Linked DNA regions of Homo sapiens: all the other regions are linked to region 3. Evidence: promoter capture Hi-C in 16 types of primary human blood cells and fetal thymus (Javierre and others, 2016). All regions are on one chromosome and are shown on one strand. Each heading gives the region's core, a stretch centred on a gene start or on the middle of the fragment in contact. The rest is flanking DNA. Distances are from core to core; before and after follow the strand shown.

Region 1 (2,778 bases), core at 101-2,600, 170 kb before region 3:
TGCTGGTTCTTTGTGTCTGTGACTTTGACATTGGCATCAGCTCCTCAAGCTTCCCCTGGTGTCCTTACCCTGGAGAGATGCCTCTGCTAGGTCTTATATAATGAATTATAAAAACTATTATTGAATTTCTCTGGGTTAGGCACTGTGATTGGTGGTGAGAGCATAAGGTGACTAAAACAGATGAAACACCTATGTCCTAGGGTTTATGTTCATGGGAGAAGTAGACATTAAAGAAATAGCTGTACCACAACAGTGGAAAGTGTTCAGGGCACTGTGGCCTCCCAGACAAAGTGACATCTGAGCTGAGACTGGCAGGGTGGTAGACCTACTTGCTCAGAGGAGGTAGGGGACAGGAAGGAGGCAGAGAGAATACAGCCTGACTTGCATGGTGTATTAGTTCTTACAGTGCCATAAAGAACTGCCCAAGACAGGATAATTTATAAAGAAAAGAGGTTTAATTGACTCACAGTTTCTCAGGGCTAGGGAGGCCTCAGAAAACTTAAAATTATGGCTGAAGGGGAAGCAAACATGTCCCTCTTCACACGGCAGCAGGAAGGAGGAAGTGCCAAGCAAAGAGGGAAAAAGCCCCTTAAAAAACCGTCAGATCTCATGAGAACTCACTCAATATCACAAGAACAACATGGAGGTAACCGCCCCCCATGCTTCAATTACCTGCCACGGGGTCCCTCCCACAACATGTGGGGATTATGGGAACTACAATTCAAGATGAGATTTGGGTGGGGACACAGCCAAACCACGTCACATGGGATGGTCATGGAGTCATAGAACCCTGGCTTGTTCCTGAGAACATTGAAGGTGCCATACCAGAAATTCTTAGATAGCTGTTGCTCTGTGTGAGACTGAGCTAGAGAACAAAGACTGCATCTTAGGCATTTTTAGGGGCCTCCAGTGCATGGCCCATGGCAGGCACTTAACAAATATGTGTGTAAGGGGTGTTGATCATAGGTAGTCTTCGCACTGCTTTCTGTTAGACTTCCTTTATATTAAAATATGAGGTATTGCTTATAAAAAGATCTGAAAGAACTTGATATTTCCGAGCTGTCTCCCCAGCTGTTAGGCTGGTGGCTGCCTCAGAGAAGATTCTTTGCCAGATCAGGTGTCCTCACCCTGCCTCCCCTGCCTGCTTGTCTACTTGTTTTCTTTACCCAGTTGGTTTGCCTTTGGGTTAAAGAACTTGGTCAGCGGGACATGGAAGTAGTGTTCCAGGAGTGTTTTATATGGGCTTCAACAGAGCTGAAGCCCATATACCAGTCACAAAGCAAAACGTCAGCTCTCTGGAACCCTGGGGAAGCTCTTCTGCACAGATTTACCCTGAGAATATTCAAACTATTTTAAGTCTTTCCCAATTTAACCATTCTCATTTTAAAGTATATTAGGCACCTCCCTGTGTTTTTAAAGAAGTTTATTTTTTAAAAATTTTTAACAGAAAGGCTTATATTTAAAGGCTGTAATGCTGTCAGTGCTTCTAGGGGGTGTGACTTGCATCCGGAGCTAATGACCCCAGGCACCTGAAGACACAAATATAAATTTTATGGTCTTTCTGTTTGCTACTTTGTAATTAGGATGTTGGTTGAAACTTGTAACTGCTGTCACATACCTGTCTTTATAACCCTTCGGCTCTTGCTAATCTCTTGGTACTAATAAACTGTGAAGTTGGAAATAAACTGTAAAATTGGAAACCGCATCACTAAAAGTTTTATTTACTTGTTTATATAGTTAGTTAAACTTTTGCTCTTTAAGCAAATACATGTTCAGCTGAGCATTGTGCTACGCACTGGGGTTACAAAGATGAGTAAGATGTGTTTCTTGCTCTAAATAAGAGCAGGGGTTGGGGAATTAGGCCAGTGGGAGCACAGAGAAGGAACACCTGCACCACACTGAAGGGGTAGTGGAAGACAGAGATGCCACTTCACAGGGACTGTGTTCAGAGGAAAAGGGAATGGACGGGCCCCCAGTAGTGGCTTGGAATTTCATAATCCATGAAGTACACTGCGTATACATTGGGACATCTATTTTGGCCGCAGAGGCCATTCTTGTGTCTGCGCGTTGTTCTAGGTAGTGAGAGTCTATTGTGACCTGAGCTCCAGATAGGCGAGGTCTTACCTGAAACCAATGGTTTTTCTTTTTTCCACTTCACAACATTATTAGTGATGCTAAGTGGATCACTTCCTTAAGGTGCTGACTCTCAGATCTCCCCATTGTAAGGGTGTGTTTTCCCCTTTAGAGTAACACATGTAAATATCTTGTTCCCCAAAACCCTCTCACCTAAAGTTTACGTGTCCAATGACGAGCCCTTTGTGAATCGCTTATTAGTTACGGATGTTGCAAAATTGTGATTTATTTTCTAGTTCCAGCATTTCTTGCATATTTAGTGGCTGCCAGTGTTCCTTAAAAAGGATTGAAAAGATCTTTATATTCTTTTCTCTTCCCTCTCCCTCTCCCTGTCTTCCAGCCCATCTCTTTTTCAGTCATTATAGATTAATAGATTTTTATTTATCCAGTGCATTACAATAAATGAAGCTATTGTTCTTCCTGATATTCAGCTGTCCCAAGTGTGACTAGTTGAGAGCCCCTTCAAGCTCTTGATATAAATCCTGGAGCACCTCCTTGCTTTTTGACACAAGATATCCTAAGCTTACCCTGAACATTCCCTGCACCATCCCTAGAATCAGCCATTTCTCAAGAAGCCCTTTTATTGCAGAATAACATTTAGAAACCAAAGTTTGGGCATCAGGAGTGCCACTGCTATGGAGATGT
Region 2 (2,700 bases), core at 24-2,523, 230 kb before region 3:
CTTTCCAGCTAAAAGCCAGTTTCTTAACTACATATGTTTCAAAATCCAAAAATGCAAAGTTTAAGTTCACTAATGATTTCACAAATGTCCTAGGCCTACTACTAGATTTCGTGGGTGCCACTTATTTCGTTTAACATTTATTCATTTTATTGCCAAAAGGTTCAGGCCGAATTTCAGGTGAGTCGCTGCCTCCATGGTGGCGGCAGTCAGATGATTCTCTCTGTTCTGGTTGGGACTGAGTGGACCACAGCCACTCAAGGATCCCTTGAGAGTTGCGAGTGTTCTTTTTGATTTGAGGATGTGCCGTGAACGGAAGCCAAATACTAATAGACAGGACATCCTGTGATTCCCTTAGTTTACGATGGCCAAGGATGTGTGGGTTTTTTTGTTTGTTTGTTTCTTTTTTTTGATAAGATGATTACTTGGTTTTTTTCCTGTTAACAAGGGAGCCTAGATGATGATGTCCATTTGGCTTTTAGGACTCTTAACTAGCAAACAACTAAGCCCCTGCAAAATCACATGAAGACATTGGAAAATCTTTTTATGTAAGGCAGAGATGATTTGGTCATAGTTCGCAATGAAGTGACCGTCAGTTCTATTGGCTTGAAATAATAATGAACCAAAGAGGGGAAATGACCGAAGTCGAAGTTCTTGAAATTAAGGATGTTAAAATAAAATTCTGAAATCTAGTATACTGTGGTATACCTATACGGTTAAGTATTATACAAATATTACATGTGAAGAAAATATGAAAAAAGTTCACAAATGTACCAATGTTAACAGAAGCAAGATGATTATTACAAACGTTTATATGGATTATATTAGTTTTCCAGGGCTCCCATAACAAATTACCACAAACCGGGCGGCTTCAAATTGATCCTCTCACAGTTGTGATGCCGGAGGCTAGAAGTCTAAAACCAAGGTGTTAGTAAGGCCATGCTCCCTCCAACAGCTCTGGGAGACCCTTCCTTGTCTCTTCCCGCTTCTTTTGGCCCCCATGTGCTCCTTGGCTTGCAGCTTCATCACGCCCATCTCTGCCTTTCATTATCACCTGGCCTTCTTCATCTGTGTTTTTTACATGGTCGTCTTTTAAGGAACCAGTCATTGGAGGGCCCACCTTAATCCAGTATATCCTCACCTTAACTAATCATATCTGCAAAGACCTTTTTCCAAATAAAGTCATAATCTGAGGTTCCAGGTGGATATGAATCTTGCAGGGACACTATTCAGTTCTCTGTGTGTGTGTGTGTGTGTGTGTGTGTATGTGTGTGTGTGTGTATACATATGAACCCATTTTTATAAATAACTGTATGTGTGAAACACATACACACAGGTACCCCTCACCAGACACACATAAAAGATGTTTAGGGCCAGATGTGGTGGCTCACGCCTGTAATCCTAGCCCTTTGGGAGGCCGAGGTGGGCGGATCATGAGGTTAGCAGTTCAAGACCAGCCAGCCTGGCCAACATGGTGAAACCTTGTCTCTACTAAGAATACAAAAATTAGCCAGGTGTGGTGGTGCCAGCCTGTAATCCTACCTACTGGGGAGGCTGGGGCAGGAGAATCACTTAAATCCAGGAGGCAGAAGTTGCAGTGAGCCGAGATCATGCAACTGCACTGCAGCCTGGGTGACACAGCAAGACTCTTGTCTCAAAAAAAAAAAAAAAAGATGTTTAGGAAGATATGAATATGAGTGTTATAACTGGGTGATGGAACAGTGGAAATTTTAATTTTATTTTTTATCTGTATTTTCTGCATTAGTGAAAATGGACAGATTTTTTTAATAGAAAAATCTGGCTTTTTGAATAAACAGTAGCACTTTGACATCTTAAAAAAATTGTAGATTTTTATTTTTACTAGCATCCTACTTTAAGTTTGTTGTTACTTTGCCTCATCCAACTTTAATGAAATATTTTAACTTTAAATAATTAATCCTTTGTAGCATTATACATATATAAATATACATAATGAACCCATTAATATATTTGTGATATTAAATGTTTATTATGCTTATTATTATAACAATAGCTAAAGCTGAAATAATATAAAGTAAAATAGGTTTTTGAGACATTGAATCAACCAGTGTGATTGTCAGGTTTTTGGTTTAGGTTTGGAAAGCCAAAAAAAGAAAAGAAAACTTATAATTCTTACTCAATTGCTGAACTCAAACCTTTTTTTCCTTAAAAATGTTTTTAAAGTCTCTAACCCTAGGAACCTAGAAACTCGGTATGGAGGCAGGATGGGGAGGGACTTTACCAAATTTTTAAATTTCATCTGTTCAAATTGGCTCAAATACTGGGTAACTTTTAACACATGTATCTACTCTAGAACTACTTCATCCACTGACCCTTCTTATTTAGACATTTGTGCCTATAGTAACATCTCTAGTTATTTAGTCAAAAAGTTTACTAGGTCTTGTGGTAATTTCCTTTTTCTTAATTATCTTTGAATGCTTATTAACTAATTGTTACTGTTCTGTCTTTATCCCAAGTTTAACAAAACATTCTCAATTCAGTAATGACCCCTATCCCTAACATTTGTTAAACTACTGCAGTATACTGTATTAAAAATTTTGTCCTTTGCTCCTGTAAGTCCTCATAGCATAGCGCTGCAGAATCTAAAGAGGAGACTGCAGTTCAAAAAGCTTCCCTGCTTCCACTGTCCTTCCCAAACCCATGGTCTTACCATGTATCTGCCCC
Region 3 (2,773 bases), core at 126-2,625:
TGATTGCAGTGATAGTTCCACAGCTGTATTCATTTAACAAGCCTTATCAAATTATATCCTTTAAATATTTGCTGTTTATGTCAGTTATACCTCAATAAAGCTGTTTTGTTTTGTTTTGTTTTGTTTTGTTTTGAGACAAAGTCTCGCTTTGTCACCCAGGCTGGAGTGCAGTGGCGCAATCTCGGCTCACTGCAACCTCCGCCTCCTGGGTTCATGGGTTCACGCGATTCTCCTGACTCGGCCTCCCAAGTAGCTGGGATTAAAGGCGCACACCACCATGCCCAGCTAATTTTTGTATTTGTAGTAGAGACAGGGTTTCACCTTGTTGGCCAGGCTGGTCTCCAACTCCTGATCTCAGGTGATCCACCTGCCTCAACCTCCCAAAGTTTTAGGATTACAGGCCTAAGCTGCGCCTGGCCAAAAAGAAAGCTGTTTTTTTAAAACTATCTGCACTCCCTACTTGGGAGGGTTGGACTCAAGTTCCCACATCTCTTTCCTCTTACGGTTATATTAAGGGCTTAGTCATACATCCCTAAATTTCATATATCCCAACAGGGACTTGGGCTGGGACAGGAAGCCCTCTTCCTCCACCTCAACTACCACTTAGCCACCCACCATTTTCTCAAACCTCTTCCTTTCCCCACCGGACAGCTTAAACCAAGTCACACGTCTCATTGGTCTCAACAGAAATGAGGTCCCAACTCCTCATTTCCCAAGATATTTCCATGAACACAGCAATATCCTTTCCTACCCTGATTACCCCGCACCCTCCATTTCGGGTCCTTCTCACCCTGATCAGTGAGAATTGTTCTAGCAAGCAAACCTTAAATAGACCTCGTACCCTTTCTAGATTGCAAAGTAGATAAAAATCCAACTTTCCGTTAATTCAGGGATTAATTACTGAGCATCACTTATTTCTTGGGCAGTGGTTCTCAAAATGTGGTCCCAGGACCAACAGCTTCAGGATCACCTGAGAACCTGGGCTGCCACCGCCCCCTCCCCCACTACTAAATCAGCAACTCCGGAGTTGTGGGGCAGAAGTCAGTATTTTAACAAGGCCTCCAGGTGATTCTGATGCGCGCTACTCTTCTGGGGGTGTGAAAAACCAGAGAGGACAGGAAGAAAGTTAGAATTAAAGCATACCTACGAATCAGATAAGCGATAGGGGGAGGGGTGGTTATTTAAAAAACGATAACTAATTAAGAACTTGTATGTAGTAAGAAAACCTACCCTGCCCCAGAGAGCTTTCCCGAAAGATAATGGATTCCGACATTCACCTCAAGAACCGGCAGACAGAGCAGCAAAGGATCTGTCGCTGGCCAAGCAGGTCCCTGGCTAAGGCACTGCTAGGGACAGCTCGCGGCGGTTCGGGGGTTAATTCTCGGCAGCCCTCCGTCACCCGGTGCCCCACCCCCGCCCTGCGCCTGCGCGGTGAAGCGCCATAGAGCTGAGCACTCCTCCCAGATTCCTAGAGCGGACAGGGCGATGGCAGGTTCGCCGGGTGTGAGGCTTCACAGCGGTCCGGTGACCAAGTCGAGGTAAGGGTGATGTCGGCTCGCGGATAGCAGAGGAGTTCCGGGTGATCTTGCCTAACGAGCAGGAAACTGTGCATGGTTTCTCGAGTCCTTGGAGAGTGAAGGCCCCCGGGGTCGCTCCCGGGCACGGAGAGACGATTGGTTCACGGCCTAGTGTTCGGTTTGTTCCCAGTCAGCCCTTGCTGGCCTTGGGTTCAACCGAATGAACGCCAGAAACTCTGTGGGGTGGGGGGAGTCACCAACCGTGGTGCATCCATACGAATCAGCCTACCGTACTGGGAAAGAGCCACCTGAATTTGTGAATGTTGTAAAAGCAAAAGGAAGAAAAATGATCAGTAGTGTCATTTTTGGATAGGAAGGGCAGCGAATAACATAGTGTTAACCACTAGAATTCACTGTAAAATTCCCCTCTCTGCGTTATCTTTCCAGTTATACCTTTTTTTGGTAGCATTAACCCCTAATTTTGTTTGAACATCTCTAGACTTGGAATGGGGAATGTGTGTCTTAAGTGGGTTAATCCCTGGCTCTTGGATGATGGGGAGGAAGCCTAATACATTCTGAGAGAAAAGCAACTGGAAGTCAAATGAGATTTTTTGTTTTCTCCTTCTTTTATATCTTGAGGATTTTTCTGGTGGTCTAGTCTCAGAGATTACATCTGTAGTCAGCACAATGATTCCCTTCCAAGCCCAGTGGTGCCCAGTTGCCTCCAGGTCCCAGACCTTTATGTGGACAAGAAAAGCTTACAGAGGAAATGGTAATTCTCCACTTGCACACTGAGGTGTCCAGTTGCAGCCCATGGAGATCCAGTTCAATTATGAATCTCAGGAACACCACCTTCTGTCAGGTGAGAGGCAGGGTATTATATCTTTCTTAGTGGCTTTGGCGGGGTGGGGAGGATGAGGGGGTGTCACTCTATGCTAGTGTCTTCAAATGATCCCCCTTAACTCTGTTAGGCAGTATTACCTCTTTAGTGTACCAAGCATAGTCACATGACTTTATTTCAAAATCTGGCGATCAAATTCTCATGCAGCTCTCTCCACTTTTTTAAGACCCCAAAGTCATTCATTTTTCCCTGTATAATGACCTCATTGCTAATCTGTCAGTTTTGGTCATTTTTCTTATCTACTGTAGGGGCATAGTTAAAAGTTCTGGAGTCTGACAACCTAGATTCAAACAGTAGTTTTGTCACTTAACTGGCTCCAGTAAGTTACTCATATATTTTACGATTCTGTTTCCTC
Region 4 (2,700 bases), core at 201-2,700, 150 kb before region 3:
CAGGTTATGCTCTTTTCTTTCTCAGGGTCCTCTTTGGTGGGCAGCCACTCCCCGAGATGTTGCCATCAGTTTTCTGCAGTCCAAAGAGGGTATGGTTAGGTACGGGTCTTCCTGCCTCATTCCTCTTCCTCTTTGTGTAGGTTTCAGCCACAAAACTGTCATTCACTCTAGGGGACCCCTACTAAAGGGTAACTTCAGGTGTGCAGCCCTGAGCTCCAAGGCTCTGCACCATGCCACACACTTGCTGTAAGGCTAGAAGTGAAGACCTTATTAATAGGAGCATAATTGCGAGGGAGAATCATGGTTCTGCAGTCTGGTGTAGACACTGGAATAACAGCACAGAAAAATCTATGACTCCCAATATCTTCTAGAATAAAGAATTTTCCCTCTTTAACACAAGGGCCCTCCTTGTCATTGACCTTAGCTAAACCATGGCAATTCATAAATAGAGGAAACATTAATGAATTAAAAGCATTCCTTATTTTTTAACTAATATTTGTACATTTTCTTAGTCTCTTTCCAAGTCTTTGCCTCTTTTTTTTCTTTATTTTTATTTTTTCCTTTGACAGATGGTATCCCTTCCTGGATCATTCATTTCACCTTGGTTTCTAACTTTAGGTTTACTTTCACTTGTTATTTGACTTAGCAGGTGCAACAAAAACAAGAAACAAATGTGCCCACCCCACTTTCCGCTTAACTGAAAAGCTTAAAATAAATTTCTGAATTATGTATCCTGAAGCTTTGAAATTTCTTTATTAATCGATGAAATATGAATTCTAAATTCTAGCATTGAAGCTTTTCACCAAAAGAAGTCTCTCCAAAATAAATCTTTTGCAGCAAAGTGATATTTATTGAGTTATGTGGAAAAGATGGCTTGTATTTTTCAGATTATTACAACACACTGTGCAGAATTAGACAGATGTTCCGTGGTGTTTGGTTTCCCTTTCTTCTCTCTCCTGCTCACTCTGCATTATAGCAGCAGCTTATTTCTCTAAGGCTGGACAGCCTGGCTCTCGGCAGTGACGTCCTCCCACACCTGGTCACAAGTAGTAGTGGCTGTGCTATACCCAGCATCATGCTTAACAGCGTGTTGCCCTTCTGAGCCTGTTGTACTCACTGATCTCTTTAAAAACAAAAAATAGCTCTTGTAAAAGGTCACAATAACTCTATGCACCTGATACTGCAGTGGTTCCTAGGCCATTCTTCATCTGCTCTGGACATCTCAGTCATACCCAATGCTCAGTGGATCATGACCAAACTCCTGTCATGTGGATGCACGTGAGTGGGTAGCAGGGAGTCAGGATCCTGCCTTCTCCAGCAACCCCTTACTGCTGTATAACTTGCATAAGCCTCCCTGGTGACTCTTGCAGGAACCACTCCATTGCCCTCCAGCTCCCCAGCCTTCTCAGTTATAAACATGCTGGCCAGATCTCTTAGCCTGCAAAGAGAACTTTCCCCAGTCACCATAGACCATTCTCCTTCCTGAAGGCTTGGGGCAGACCATTCGTTTATTTAGAGAAGAGCTATACATTCTTCTTTCTGGTCCCATCTTAAACGTCTTCTGTTGTGCTGCACCCCAGATGGTGTCTCAGATGCTTTGGGGAATCTTTAACAGCTGAATTTGAGTCAGTCCTCTTAGGCTGCACCTCCAGCCTCTGCAGATCCCCCCTCATTTCCCATGGATGGTGGGACCCCATTATTCTCTCATCTCGGCATTCAGGGAACAGTTTCCTTAGCGGCCCCTGGTCACATGTCATCGGGCTGGGCAGGAAGCGTCCCTGATTGCGTGCTCCACTTCTCCCTCTCAGGAAGCCCAGTTTCATCCTTAGTACCCCCCCTCGTGCCCGCTGTCGGCTGGTTATAGCACTTCCACTGCTACTGTCAGATAGGAAGTGATCGAAGCAGGGGGCAAAGAGAAAGCCCATATTTGTTCTAAGCAGAAAAGCAGGAAAAAAAAAAAAAAAAAAGAAAGAAAAACACCTGTTGACCTGAGAGAAGTAAATTCCAGAAGGGAACCAAGAACTCTTCCCTTCCCTGGTGAGTATTTCCATTATTCCGTTAAGGTTTAATATGCATTCAGATTACTTTTACTAAATAGGACACCATAAAGCTTTTGTTATATATTAAATGTAAACTGAAAGGAATGTAAACATATGTATTGTTAATTATAAATATAGATAAGTAATGACATAATAGATGAAAAAGTCTTATTCAGATGTATCACATTCATTTTACATTACCCACCTATTGTCGCATGGTAGAATAGTTTTTTGTCTCTGAATATGTGAATAACTTGACTTGCATTGATCTTTTTACATATTTAATAAAAAAAAAAGTATATGTTAAAATCTGCCTGGAGTTACAGATTCTTAAATTTTTATGCTGAAGCTTCCCTTTTCAGTCAGCATGTGAATAGGAATAGATTTGTGTGGATTTACACATCTACCCACATTTTATTATGATTTCCCCGGGGCGGGGGTTGTCTTTGTTTTTATTGATGGCCAATGTTGTTAACAAGAGTTACAGACTCGTATTTGATATCAAATGTAGCAGCTATAATACCTTTTAAAAACTTTACCAAAAAAAAAAAAAAAAAGACATAAAGAGAAAACATTCCCTTGGGAAACATTCCACCTGCAAGCAAACAGAATCCTAGCTCCTGCAGGTCCAGCATACTCCATCTGGACAAGACAGTGCTGG

Evidence for each region. The method cuts DNA at HindIII sites, captures the fragments that hold promoters and counts their contacts. A CHiCAGO score of 5 or more calls a contact.
Region 1: a fragment that was not itself captured here is called in contact with the fragment with the promoter of ZSCAN30 in region 3 in 1 of 17 cell types (naive B cells); the score reaches 5.5 in naive B cells.
Region 2: a fragment that was not itself captured here is called in contact with the fragment with the promoter of ZSCAN30 in region 3 in 1 of 17 cell types (activated CD4 T cells); the score reaches 5.2 in activated CD4 T cells.
Region 4: a fragment that was not itself captured here is called in contact with the fragment with the promoter of ZSCAN30 in region 3 in 1 of 17 cell types (naive B cells); the score reaches 5.2 in naive B cells.

What each region holds. Positions count from the first base shown.
Region 1 is chr18:35,123,685-35,126,462 of GRCh38, forward strand. The region is part of intron 4 of MAPRE2 (microtubule associated protein RP/EB family member 2); the gene reads left to right. Among named protein-coding and RNA genes, the nearest start is that of MAPRE2, 84 kb to the left of the region's middle. The HindIII fragment of the contact is 2,606 bases long and covers 48-2,653 here.
Region 2 is chr18:35,054,303-35,057,002 of GRCh38, forward strand. All of the region lies in intron 1 of MAPRE2 (microtubule associated protein RP/EB family member 2), which reads left to right. Among named protein-coding and RNA genes, the nearest start is that of MAPRE2, 14 kb to the left of the region's middle. The HindIII fragment of the contact is 2,740 bases long and covers 1-2,643 here.
Region 3 is chr18:35,288,854-35,291,626 of GRCh38, forward strand. ZSCAN30 (zinc finger and SCAN domain containing 30) reads right to left here and starts at 1,376. Exons shown (of 4, transcript NM_001112734.4): 1 at 1,231-1,376. It also overlaps the pseudogene ZNF271P. RefSeq lists an enhancer at 1,493-1,652. The HindIII fragment of the contact is 2,453 bases long and covers 1-2,272 here.
Region 4 is chr18:35,141,123-35,143,822 of GRCh38, forward strand. It overlaps MAPRE2 (microtubule associated protein RP/EB family member 2), which reads left to right. Exons shown (of 7, transcript NM_014268.4): 7 at 1-2,348. Among named protein-coding and RNA genes, the nearest start is that of ZNF397, 99 kb to the right of the region's middle. The HindIII fragment of the contact is 1,315 bases long and covers 794-2,108 here.